Linked DNA regions of Homo sapiens: region 1 is linked to region 2. Evidence: promoter capture Hi-C in 16 types of primary human blood cells and fetal thymus (Javierre and others, 2016). All regions are on one chromosome and are shown on one strand. Each heading gives the region's core, a stretch centred on a gene start or on the middle of the fragment in contact. The rest is flanking DNA. Distances are from core to core; before and after follow the strand shown. Region 1 overlaps ANKRD42 (ankyrin repeat domain 42). Region 2 holds the start of FAM181B (family with sequence similarity 181 member B).

Region 1 (5,136 bases), core at 202-2,701, 470 kb before region 2:
ATTTTAAAAACTGCCAAACTGTTTTCTAACGTGGCTGTACCTCTCTACATTCCCACCAGCAATGTATGGGAGTTCCAGTTTCTCGATATCCTTATAAACACTTTGTATTGCCATTTTTTTGGTTTTTTGTTTTTTCTGCTATTCTTACAGGTATCTCATTGTGGTCTTAATTTGCATTTGCCTAATGGCTAATGATGTTGAACATCTTTTCATATGTTTAATTGCCATCCATATGTACTCTTTGAGAAAGTGTCAACTGAAGTCTTTTGCCCATTAAAATTTTTTTTCTTACTGCTGAGTTCTGAGAGTTCCTTATATAATCTGGTTACAAGTTCTTAGGTACGTGATTTGCAAAGGTTTTCTTCTCTATTTTCTCTGTAAGTTTTATAAGTTTTACATTTATCTACAATCTGTTTTGAGTAAATTTTTGCATATGGTACCAAGTATGGCTCAAGCTTCATTTTCTTTTTTTTTTAATTTTAGATTCAGAGGGTACATGTGCCAAGTTCGTTCGTTTCATGGATATGCTGCATGATGCTGAGGCATTTGGGCTTCTATTGAACCCATCTCCCAAATAGTGACCAGGTTACCAAACAGGTAGTTTTTCAACCCTTGCCTCCTTCCCTATCTACTTTTGGAATCCCCAGTGTCTATTGTTCCCATCTCTTTGTCCATGTGTACCCAATATTTAGGTCCCACATATAAGTGAAAATATGTGGTTTTTCGTTTTCTGTTTCTGTGTTAATTCACTTAGGATAAAAGGTTCATTTTCTTACATATGAATATGTGTAATTGTGCCAACATCATTTAATGAAAATATATCTGCTCTCCACTGAATTACATTTGCATCTTTGTTAAAAATCAATTGACCGGCTGGGTGCAGTGGTTCATGTCTGTAATCTCAGCATTTTGGGAGGCTGTGGCAGGTGGATCATTTAAAGTCAGGAATTCAAGACTATCCTGGTCAACATGGTGAAACCCTGTCTCTACTAAAAATACAAAAATTAGACAGGCGTGGTGGCGGGCACCTGCAGTACCAGCCACTCAAGAGGCTGAGGCAGGAGAATCACTTGAACCCAGGAGGCAGAGGTTGCAGTGAGCCGAGATCATGCCACTGTACTCCAGCCTGGACAACAGAACCAGACTCTGTCTTGAAAAGAGAAAAGAGAGAAGAGAGAAGAGAACCGAACCAGATGGAAATTCTGGAGTTGAACAGTATATCTGAAATGAAAAGTTTACTAGGAGCTCAATAGCAGATTTCATCTGAAAAAAACTGAAGTCCAATAAAGCATGGTTTTTTACCAATTATTAATTTAGTGATTATTTCTTGCAACCAATATATAAATATCAAAAATCTTAAGAAAATTCAGAAAGGTTAAAAAACTGTAAAGGTGTTAACGTAGTGCTCAAGTAAAGATTTAGGGCCAGACGCGGTGGTTCATGCCTGTAATCCTAGCATTTTGGGAGACCAAGGCAGGTGGATCACAAGGTCAGGAGTTTGAGACGAGCCTGGCCAACATAATGAAACTCCGTCTCTACTAAAAATACAAAAATTAGCTGGGTGTGGTGGCACATGCCTGTAGTCCCAGCTATTCGGGAGGCTGAGGCAGGAGAATCATTTGAACCCAGGAGGCAGGGGTTGCAGTCAACCAAGACGGTGCCATTGCACTCCAGCCTGGGCGACAGAGCAAGACTCCCTCTCAAAAAAAAAAAAAAAAAGAAAGAAAAAAAGGAAAACTTAGGAGATGACCTTTAAGTAGGAATAGAGAAAAGCACTAAAATCTTTTGGTTTCTGTTTATGCTTGTTAAAATCCAACAAACAGGCTGGGGCATGGTGGCTCACACCTGTAATCCCTATTGGGAGGCCAAGACAAGTGGATCACTTGAGGTCAGGAGTTAGAGACCAGCCTGGCCCACGTGGTGAAACCCCATCTCTACCAAAAATACAAAAAATTAGACAGGTATGGTGGCACATGCACCTGTAGTCCCAGCTACATAAGAGGCTGAGGTGGGAGAGCTGCTTGAACCTGGGAGGCAGAGGTTGCAGTGAACTGAGATCACACCACTGCACTCCAGCCTGGGAAACAAGAGCGATACCCTGTCTGAAAAAAAAAAAAAAAAAAAATCCAACCAACATTTATTGAACATCTGCTAGGCACTGTGCTAGACACTAAAAATATAAACGTAAATTTAATTCAACAAATTCAGCAACATGAGAAACATTTCTTGTGAACTTATGATGTGACTCCTATAATATGCCAGATATTACACTAGGTATTGTGGAAAAAAAGATGAATGAGACTCAAATGGTATCTTCAAAGAGCTCAAAATCTAATAGAGAATAAAATTTAAAGTTATACACTTTTTAAAATTTATAAGATTTAGAGGTAGCACTAAGGAGTCAGTAACTAGTTGGGAGATATTGAGGGGGAAAACAGAAAGCTTTACCAAGTGGGTACTGACTGACCTGGATTTCAACCAGGTAACCAGTGGGAAGAGATGAGACAGGCAGATGAAACAGCATGTGCATACTGCCCAAAGTAATTTATAGATTCAATGCTATTCCCATCAAGCTACCATTGACTTTCTTCACAGAATTAGAAAGAACTACTTTAAATTTCATATGGAACCAAAAAAGAGCCCGTAGAGCTAAGGCAATCCTAAGCAAAAAGAACAAAGCTGGAGGCATCATGCTACCTGACTTCAAACTATACTACAAGGCTACAGTAACCAAAACAGCATGGTACTGGTGCCAAAACAGATAAATAGACCAATGGAACAGAACAAGAGTGCTCAGAAATAACACCACACATCTACAACCACCTGATCTTCAACAAATCTGACTTTTGCAACAGGGGAAGGATTTCCTGTTTAATAAATGGTGCTGGGAAAATTGGCTAGCCATATGCAGAAAACTGAAACTGGATCCCTTTCTTAAGCCTTATATAAAAATTAATTCAAGATGGATTAAAGACTTAAAAGTAACACCTAAACCCATAAAAGCCCTAGAAGAAAAACTAGGCAATACCATTCTGGACATAGCCATGGGCAAAGACTTCATGACTAAAACACCAAAAGCAATTGCAACAAAAGCCAACATTGACAAATAGGATTTAATTAAACTAAAGAGCTTCTGCACAACAAAAGAAACTATCATCAGAGTGAACAGGCAACCTACAGAATGGGAAAAAATTTGTGCAATCTATCCATCTGACAAAGGGCTAACATCTAGAATCTACAAGAAACTTAAATTTATAAGAAAAAAACAACCCCATCAAAAAGTGGGCAAAGGATATGAACAGATACTTCTCAAAAGAAGACATTTATGCAGCCAACAAACATATGAAAAAAAGCTCATCACTGGTCATTAGAGAAACGCAAGTCAAAACTACAATGAGATACCATCTCACACCAGTTAGAATGACAATCATTAAAAAGTCAGGGAACAACAGATGCTGGAGAGGATGTGGAGAAATAGGAACTCTTTTACACTGTTGGTGGGAATGTAAATTAGTTTAACCATTGTGGAAGACAGTGTAGCAATTCCTCAAGGATCTAGAACCAGAAATACCATTTGACCCAGCAATCCTGGTCATATATTACTGGGTATATGCCCAAAGGATTATAAATCATTCTACTATAAAGACATGCACATGTATGTTTACTGCAGCGCTATTCACAATAGCAAAGACTTGGAACCAACCCAAATGCCCATCAATGATAGGCTAAAGAAAATGTGGCACATATACACCATGGAATACCATGCAGCCATAAAAAAAGAATGAGTTCACGTCCTTTGCGGGGCCATGGATGAAGCTGGAAACCACCATTCTTAGCAAACTAACACAGGAACAGAAAACCAAACACCACATGTTCTCACTCATAAGTGGAAGTTGAACAATAAGAACACATGGACACAGCGAGGGGAACATCACACACTGGGGCCTGTCGGGGGGTGGAGGGTTAGGGGAGGCGGAGCATTAGGACAAATACCTAATGCATGCAGGGCTTAAAACCTAGAAGACTGGTTGTTGGGTGCAGCAAACCACCATGGCATATGTATACCTATGTAACAAAACTGCAGGTTCTGCCCATGTATCCTAGAACTTAAAGTATTAAAAAAAAAGAAAAGAAAAGAAACAGCATGTGCAAAGCCTATGATAATATGGAACAGTAGACTAATTTGGGAAATGATGGTAGTCACCAGTACTATAGCATAAAACAATTATGATGGGAGATGAGGTTAGAGAAATAAGTCTACCATGTTAAATGGCTTGAACTTTATCCTATGGAGGGCAGAGAGTTACTACAGGGTTTTAAGGAAGGTCTCAAGTAATATTAGATTTTAGTTTTACAGAGAAAATAGCTTTGTATATAGTATATGGACTACAGGTGGACCACACACACAAAAAAATAAAATTAATTAAATCTAAGAACATGGTTATGGGGATGGAGAGGACAAATTCAGGAGACAAAGATGGAGCAGAATCAACTGACCTAGTGACTAGTTCTCACTGCATCAATGTGTAACACGAACTGCACCTTCATCTAGACAAATGCTGATAATGTGTTTTGATTATATGAAATACTGAAACAACTCAATGATGATTCAAAGGCTATTGCCCTAGAAAACTACAAAATGGAGGGAAAAATATAACAGTTTTAGTGTTAGACTAGTTGAATTTGAGATGCCAGTCAGATATGCATGAGCTATGATCAAGCACTTAATACATAATCCAAAAGTCAGGAGAGAGAGCAAATAAATGAATTATGTAGAAGCGATAAAGCCAAAGAAGTTTAAAAGACTGACTGGAGAAACTGTAAAGTAGGAAAGAAATGTAAACAATACTACAATTACACAATAGGAGGAGTGAGTTAACCAAAGTAGACTGAGTGAGAGTAGTAAGAGAAGCTGAAAGGGCACCAGAAAAGAGATGAAATAAATGGTATATCCTGATGTCTATTAGAATATGGCAGAGTAAAATCAGTACTTCCCCCTTCTCTCCAAAATCACCCAAAAGCAAAGAGCAAAAAAACCCAGAAAACTCCAACTAGATGAAACTAGGAGACATCTGTAACTCAAACTACAAACAGATTAAAAAACCTGCCAAAGTGCAGAACAAATAGGAATGTGGG
Region 2 (5,741 bases), core at 3,231-5,730:
GACTTGGTTCCCAAGGAGACTAATCCCACTTGCACAGCATTAAGCGTCACTGGGGTGAAAGAGCTCTAGTTTGGAGTTCTGCAGAGAGCCCCTACTGCAGGCTGGAGCCGGGTCCCTCTGCTCCATAGGAAGTGAAATGTATTGATGTCAAAGCCACTCAAATGAATGTGCTCACTCAGGGAGTAGGAGGAGGGACTGATGGGCTTGGCTAGAGCTGGCTACTAACTTTACTGAAACCAATTTCATTCCAGATAGAGCTCTTCCTCAAAGGAAAGGAGATCAAGGGAAAAAGCAGCCAAGGCCTTGAGGCTGGGTCTATATGTACAATTTAGTTGGACAGTGGAAGCTCTAAGGATTTATTTTGGTCTCAGGTATAGAATTACTTCAAGCAGAAGCTGTTCTTTGTTGCCCTATTGCCTACATTTTCCCATAAACACCACTGCTTTCATTTAGCCATGCCTCTGCCCAGGCTGTTCTCTCTGCCACAGATATTGTGTGTTTGCTTTACACAGTCAGATATATCATTTAAGTCTTAGCTCAAATGCTGCATGTCTATGCAGCCTTCTCCAACTCCTGTGGGCAGACTTGAGGGTCCTTTTACTTCCATTGGACATGTATCACATTATATTACAATGGCTTGTTTGCATATTTGTCTTTCCACCCAAAGGGTAGAAATCATGGCTTCTTATCTCTGTATCCCCAGTACTAGCATAGCGCTGAGCACATTGTGGGTGTCAATATCTTTCTGTTGGAAAAAATCAGTGACTGGATGGATATTTATTTGTAAGGATCAATTTTGTGAATCAGGCTATAGAACTTCTAAGCCATGAATTTCAGCTCCATGGTTTACAAAAACTTCAATTTCCATTATCTTATTGATTTTCACAATAGCCCTATCAAATAGGATTATGTTATTATTCCCCATTTATGGATGGGAACATCGAGGTCCTGAAGGTTAAGTGACTTTTCCATAGGCAGTCAGATAATAAAGGCAGGACTGGACTCCAGTGTCAGTCTCCGGCTCCAGTTTTAGCACTCTCTCTCCTGTATTTCATTGTCTTTTTGTAAGTTTCTACAACCCCCAAGTATAGCTACTCTCTTGCATTTGAAAATAGTCACTCACTTTGCTGAGGGAAAGGACAAATGATGCTGGTTTCATAGGGTAATGTGTTGGTAAGGAATGGGTGGGGCCTAAGGAATCAAGAACATGGACATTTGTTGAACTGCTATTTTGTGTGAGGTGCTTTTATATATACCATCTCACAACAACCTTGAGGAGTTGAGATTATCTCCACTGTGCAGGTGAGAAAAGTAAGATTCAGAGGCATTACTTGCCTGTTATGTCATGTAATTCTCACCCTGAGAACAATTATGACCATTCCCTTTTTTCAGATAAGGAGTTTGAGCCTTTGGAATATGAACTGACTTGTCCAAGCAGTTCAATAGCAATAGGCAGGGCCAGAATTTGAACCTGGCCTCATCTAACTTCAAATCAACTTTGATGTGCAGAACTCCAATAGAAATGAAGAAAGACTTTTACATATGAAGCTTTTCATATTCCATTTATTTTGAATATGATTTTAGGATTTAGATAACCCTGGGGATTAAGAGTTTTTTCGGAATAAGATGTCGATTAAATGTAGAGTACTGTGCAATTGGTGTCCAAGGACTTGTAAGAGTGCTCAGTTGACAGAAGGTGAAAAAAAAAAAAAGTTAGTGCTTTTGGCTGCCAGACCTGGAAGCCTATGGAATGGCCCTGTTGGAAAGGGGATGGGCAGTGCTGACATCCACATCTGGAGTGGAAGAAGCACAAATCAGTGACAGGTCTGCACAATTTTCTGAATGTGAATACCACCAAGAGTAAAACAGACAGTTCGGCCATGGAGGACAAAATGCTGTGTGTAACTCAAATGAAAAGTCCATGATAATTGAGCCAATTTGAATTTAAAATAAAAAGTTTGGCTCAGCTATGTGGGTTTGGGAAGTGGCTACTTCATCTTCTAAATGAAAAATGTTCATCTGGCCTTTTTTCTTTCTTTCTTTTTTATTATACTTTAAGTTCTAGGGTACATGTGCACAATGTGCAGGTTTGTTACGTATGTATACATGTGCCATGTTGGTGTGCTGCACCCATTAACTTGTCATTTACATTAGGTATATCTCCTGACGCTATCCCTCCCCCATCCCCCCACCCCACGACAGGCCCCGGTGTGTGATGTTCCCCACCCTGTGTCCAAGTGTTCTCATTGTTCATTTCCCACCTGTGCAGTGTTTGGTTTTCTGTCCTTGCGATAGTTTGCTCAGAATGATGGTTTCCAGCTTCATCCATGTCCCTACAAAAGACATGAAGTCATCCTTTTTTATGGCTGCATAGTATTCTATGGTGTATATGTGCCACATTTTCTTAATCCAGTGTATCACTGATAGACATTTGGGTTGGTCCCAAGTCTTTGCTATGTGAATAATAGTCTTTGCTATGTGCCACAATAAACATACGTGTGCACGTGTCTTTATAGCAGCAAGATTTATAATACTTTGGGTATATACCCAGTAATGGGATGGCTGGTTCAAATGGTATTTCTAGTTCTAGATCCTTGAGGAATCGCCACACTGTCTTCCACAATGGTTGAACTAGTTTACAGTCCCACCAACAGTATAAAAGTGTTCCTATTTCTCCACATGCTCTCCAGCACCTGTTGTTTCCTGACTTTTTAATGATCGTCATTCTAACTGGTGTGAGATGGTATCTCATTGCGGTTTTGATTTGTATTTCTCTGATGGCCCATCTGGCCTTTTTTCTTTGGTAAGGCTGTGCCTTCATGGTGTTCAAAAATGGTTTCGCTACATCTACAAAGTGAGGCTTAATAAAAAGAGTTTTGAAAGAGATGGTCTATGTCTCTCCTATGCAAGCTCTGTATCGAAACTAGAGTAACTTATTTAGAGAACACTTTATCACACACACAGTGTTTTCATATAGAGACAGTCCCCAACTTATGATGGTTCAACTTTATGATTTTCCAACTTGAATCAGTGTATTACATGCATTTTAACCTACAATATTTTCAACTTACAATGTGTTTATCAGGATGTTGTTGCTCTATCACAAATTGAGAAGCATCTATGATCTCACTTAATGCTCATGAACACCCTATGATCCAGAAGACACGTAAGGGATATAGTCACCTTTTTGTGTTTCAGAGAAGTAAGGGTGAATACTCATCCAGGCTATGGAACAATGTATCATTTAAATATCACAAGTGCCCTGTGGGGAGGGCAACTTTACCTGCATTTAACATGAGTAAGCTAAACAGAGAGAGTACGCTGGTTTGTCTAAAGCCATGCACTCAGCAGAGCAAGGATTTCAACCTAAGTCATGAGGTTATTGAGTGGTGGCTAAGACCAGAACCCAAGCCTCTTCTGAATCTCTTGTGAAAATGACCTTATTGCTCATTTTCTCTATCTATCCCAAAGAGGATTGCCCAGGTGAAATTAGTTTTAAGTGAACTTCATGATGATCCCTGAAATGCAATGAAAATTCCAGGGATAACCTAAATGGTATGACAGGTAGGGGAGAGGTTCCAATCCATCTTTTATTCTAACATGCTGAGAGTTTTATACACACACAGTGTTCTCAAGTAACAGGGGGCTTAGCCAGATCGACTCCTTTCTCCATTGCCTCCTGCTATGTGTTAATAAAAGATGGGCCACTGCTGGCCTCAATTTACTGTTAGCCAATTGTTACTCGTAACAATCAAGTGGCAAACAGTCAAGAAGAAAGAGCACTGGGCTTGAGAATCCTGGGAAAACTCAGGTTAGAATCTTAGGATCAGGTCTAGAGCTTTAAGAAATACTCATTTTCCTTCCCCATCTTAATAGATGAGAAAGGCAAGGGCAAGAGAGGACGCAAGTATTGTCAAGGGCTTAGGAATGGCTTTGGAGTCAGAATGGGCTAGATCTGACTTTGGCCAACTCACTGAACCTCCCTGAGGTGCAGTGTCCACGTTTGTTGAATGGCGATAACATGTAATTCACAGGGCTGTTGTTCAAGGATTAAATGAGATAATAGATGGACAGCGCCTGGCAGAAGCAAGCGCCCAGAAGCTGGTGGGTGTTGTTATACAGCTGGACTGAAACCCACGTCTCTAGACTCCTGCCTTCTTGCCTCAGGAGAGGCACCACCGCAAGTACCTGCAGAAGCCTATCAAGCGCTGCAGCGGCCTCATGGGCCTGAACTGGAGTTTGAGACCAGCCATCTCTTCCTCACCCCTTGCGGTTAGAGGAGTCAAGAGAAACACCACGGGGCAAAGGGAAACGAAGGAGTTAAGGCGTTGAGCTTCAGAAAGCTCAGAAAACTAAAGCGACCCCCCACTCCTCCAAGCCAGGCTAAGTAAGCCCCTCCCCTCTACCACCGGGACGGTCGCCGCGCGCTCCCTCCCTCCGCCCCTTGCTTACAAGACCTAATGAGCTCCCCCGGGAGGCAGCGCAGCGAGCCAGGCCCGGAACTAGTAGGCTGCGCCGCGCGCGCCGCGCCGGGGCGGGAGCTGGGTCTGGGCGGCGGGCAGGAGCTGGCGGGGGCGCACGGGCAGCGCTGCGGACAGCCCGGGAGCCGCGGCGATGGCGGTGCAGGCGGCGCTCCTCAGCACGCACCCTTTCGTGCCCTTCGGCTTCGGGGGCTCCCCGGACGGGCTAGGGGGCGCCTTCGGAGCCCTGGACAAGGGCTGCTGTTTCGAGGACGATGAGACCGGGGCTCCGGCGGGTGCGCTGCTGTCGGGAGCCGAAGGAGGGGACGTGCGCGAGGCCACCCGCGATCTACTCAGCTTCATTGACTCGGCGTCCAGCAACATCAAGCTGGCGCTGGACAAGCCGGGCAAGTCGAAGCGGAAGGTGAACCACCGCAAGTACCTGCAGAAGCAGATCAAGCGCTGCAGCGGCCTCATGGGCGCCGCGCCCCCCGGCCCGCCCTCCCCGAGCGCCGCCGACACGCCAGCCAAACGGCCGCTGGCCGCCCCTAGCGCCCCGACAGTCGCGGCCCCGGCCCACGGCAAGGCTGCCCCCCGGCGGGAGGCGTCGCAGGCCGCCGCGGCCGCCAGCTTGCAAAGCCGAAGTCTGGCCGCGCTCTTCGACTCGCTGCGCCACGTCCCCGGGGGTGCCGAGCCGGCGGGGGGTGAGGTGGCTGCGCCGGCGGCCGGGCTAGGAGGTGCGGGCACTGGGGGCGCGGGAGGGGACGTGGCAGGCCCCGCGGGGGCCACGGCGATCCCAGGGGCCAGGAAGGTCCCGCTGCGGGCACGCAATCTGCCTCCGTCCTTCTTCACGGAGCCGTCCCGGGCAGGCGGCGGCGGGTGTGGCCCGTCGGGGCCGGACGTGAGCTTGGGCGACCTGGAGAAGGGCGCGGAGGCCGTGGAGTTCTTTGAGCTGCTGGGGCCCGACTACGGCGCCGGCACGGAGGCGGCAGTCTTGCTTGCCGCCGAGCCTCTCGACGTGTTCCCCGCCGGAGCCTCCGTACTGCGGGGACCCCCGGAGCTGGAGCCCGGCCTCTTTGAGCCGCCGCCGGCAGTGGTGGGAAACCTACTGTACCCCGAGCCCTGGAGCGTCCCGGGCTGCTCCCCGACCAAAAAGAGCCCCCTGACTGCCCCCCGCGGCGGCTTGACCTTGAACGAGCCCTTGAGCCCCCTGTACCCCGCCGCTGCGGATTCTCCCGGCGGGGAGGACGGGCGGGGCCATTTGGCCTCTTTCGCCCCCTT

What was found. The method cuts DNA at HindIII sites, captures the fragments that hold promoters and counts their contacts. A CHiCAGO score of 5 or more calls a contact.
Region 1: a contact is called between a fragment that was not itself captured here and the fragment with the promoter of FAM181B in region 2, in 1 of 17 cell types (naive CD4 T cells). The highest score is 5.6, in naive CD4 T cells.

The regions. Positions count from the first base shown.
Region 1 is chr11:83,199,978-83,205,113 of GRCh38, reverse strand. The region is part of intron 2 of ANKRD42 (ankyrin repeat domain 42); the gene reads right to left. Among named protein-coding and RNA genes, the nearest start is that of ANKRD42, 8.8 kb to the right of the region's middle. The HindIII fragment of the contact is 1,987 bases long and covers 458-2,444 here.
Region 2 is chr11:82,732,603-82,738,343 of GRCh38, reverse strand. FAM181B (family with sequence similarity 181 member B) reads left to right here and starts at 4,480. Exons shown (of 1, transcript NM_175885.4): 1 at 4,480-5,741. The coding sequence starts at 4,615. The HindIII fragment of the contact is 9,040 bases long and covers 1,551-5,741 here.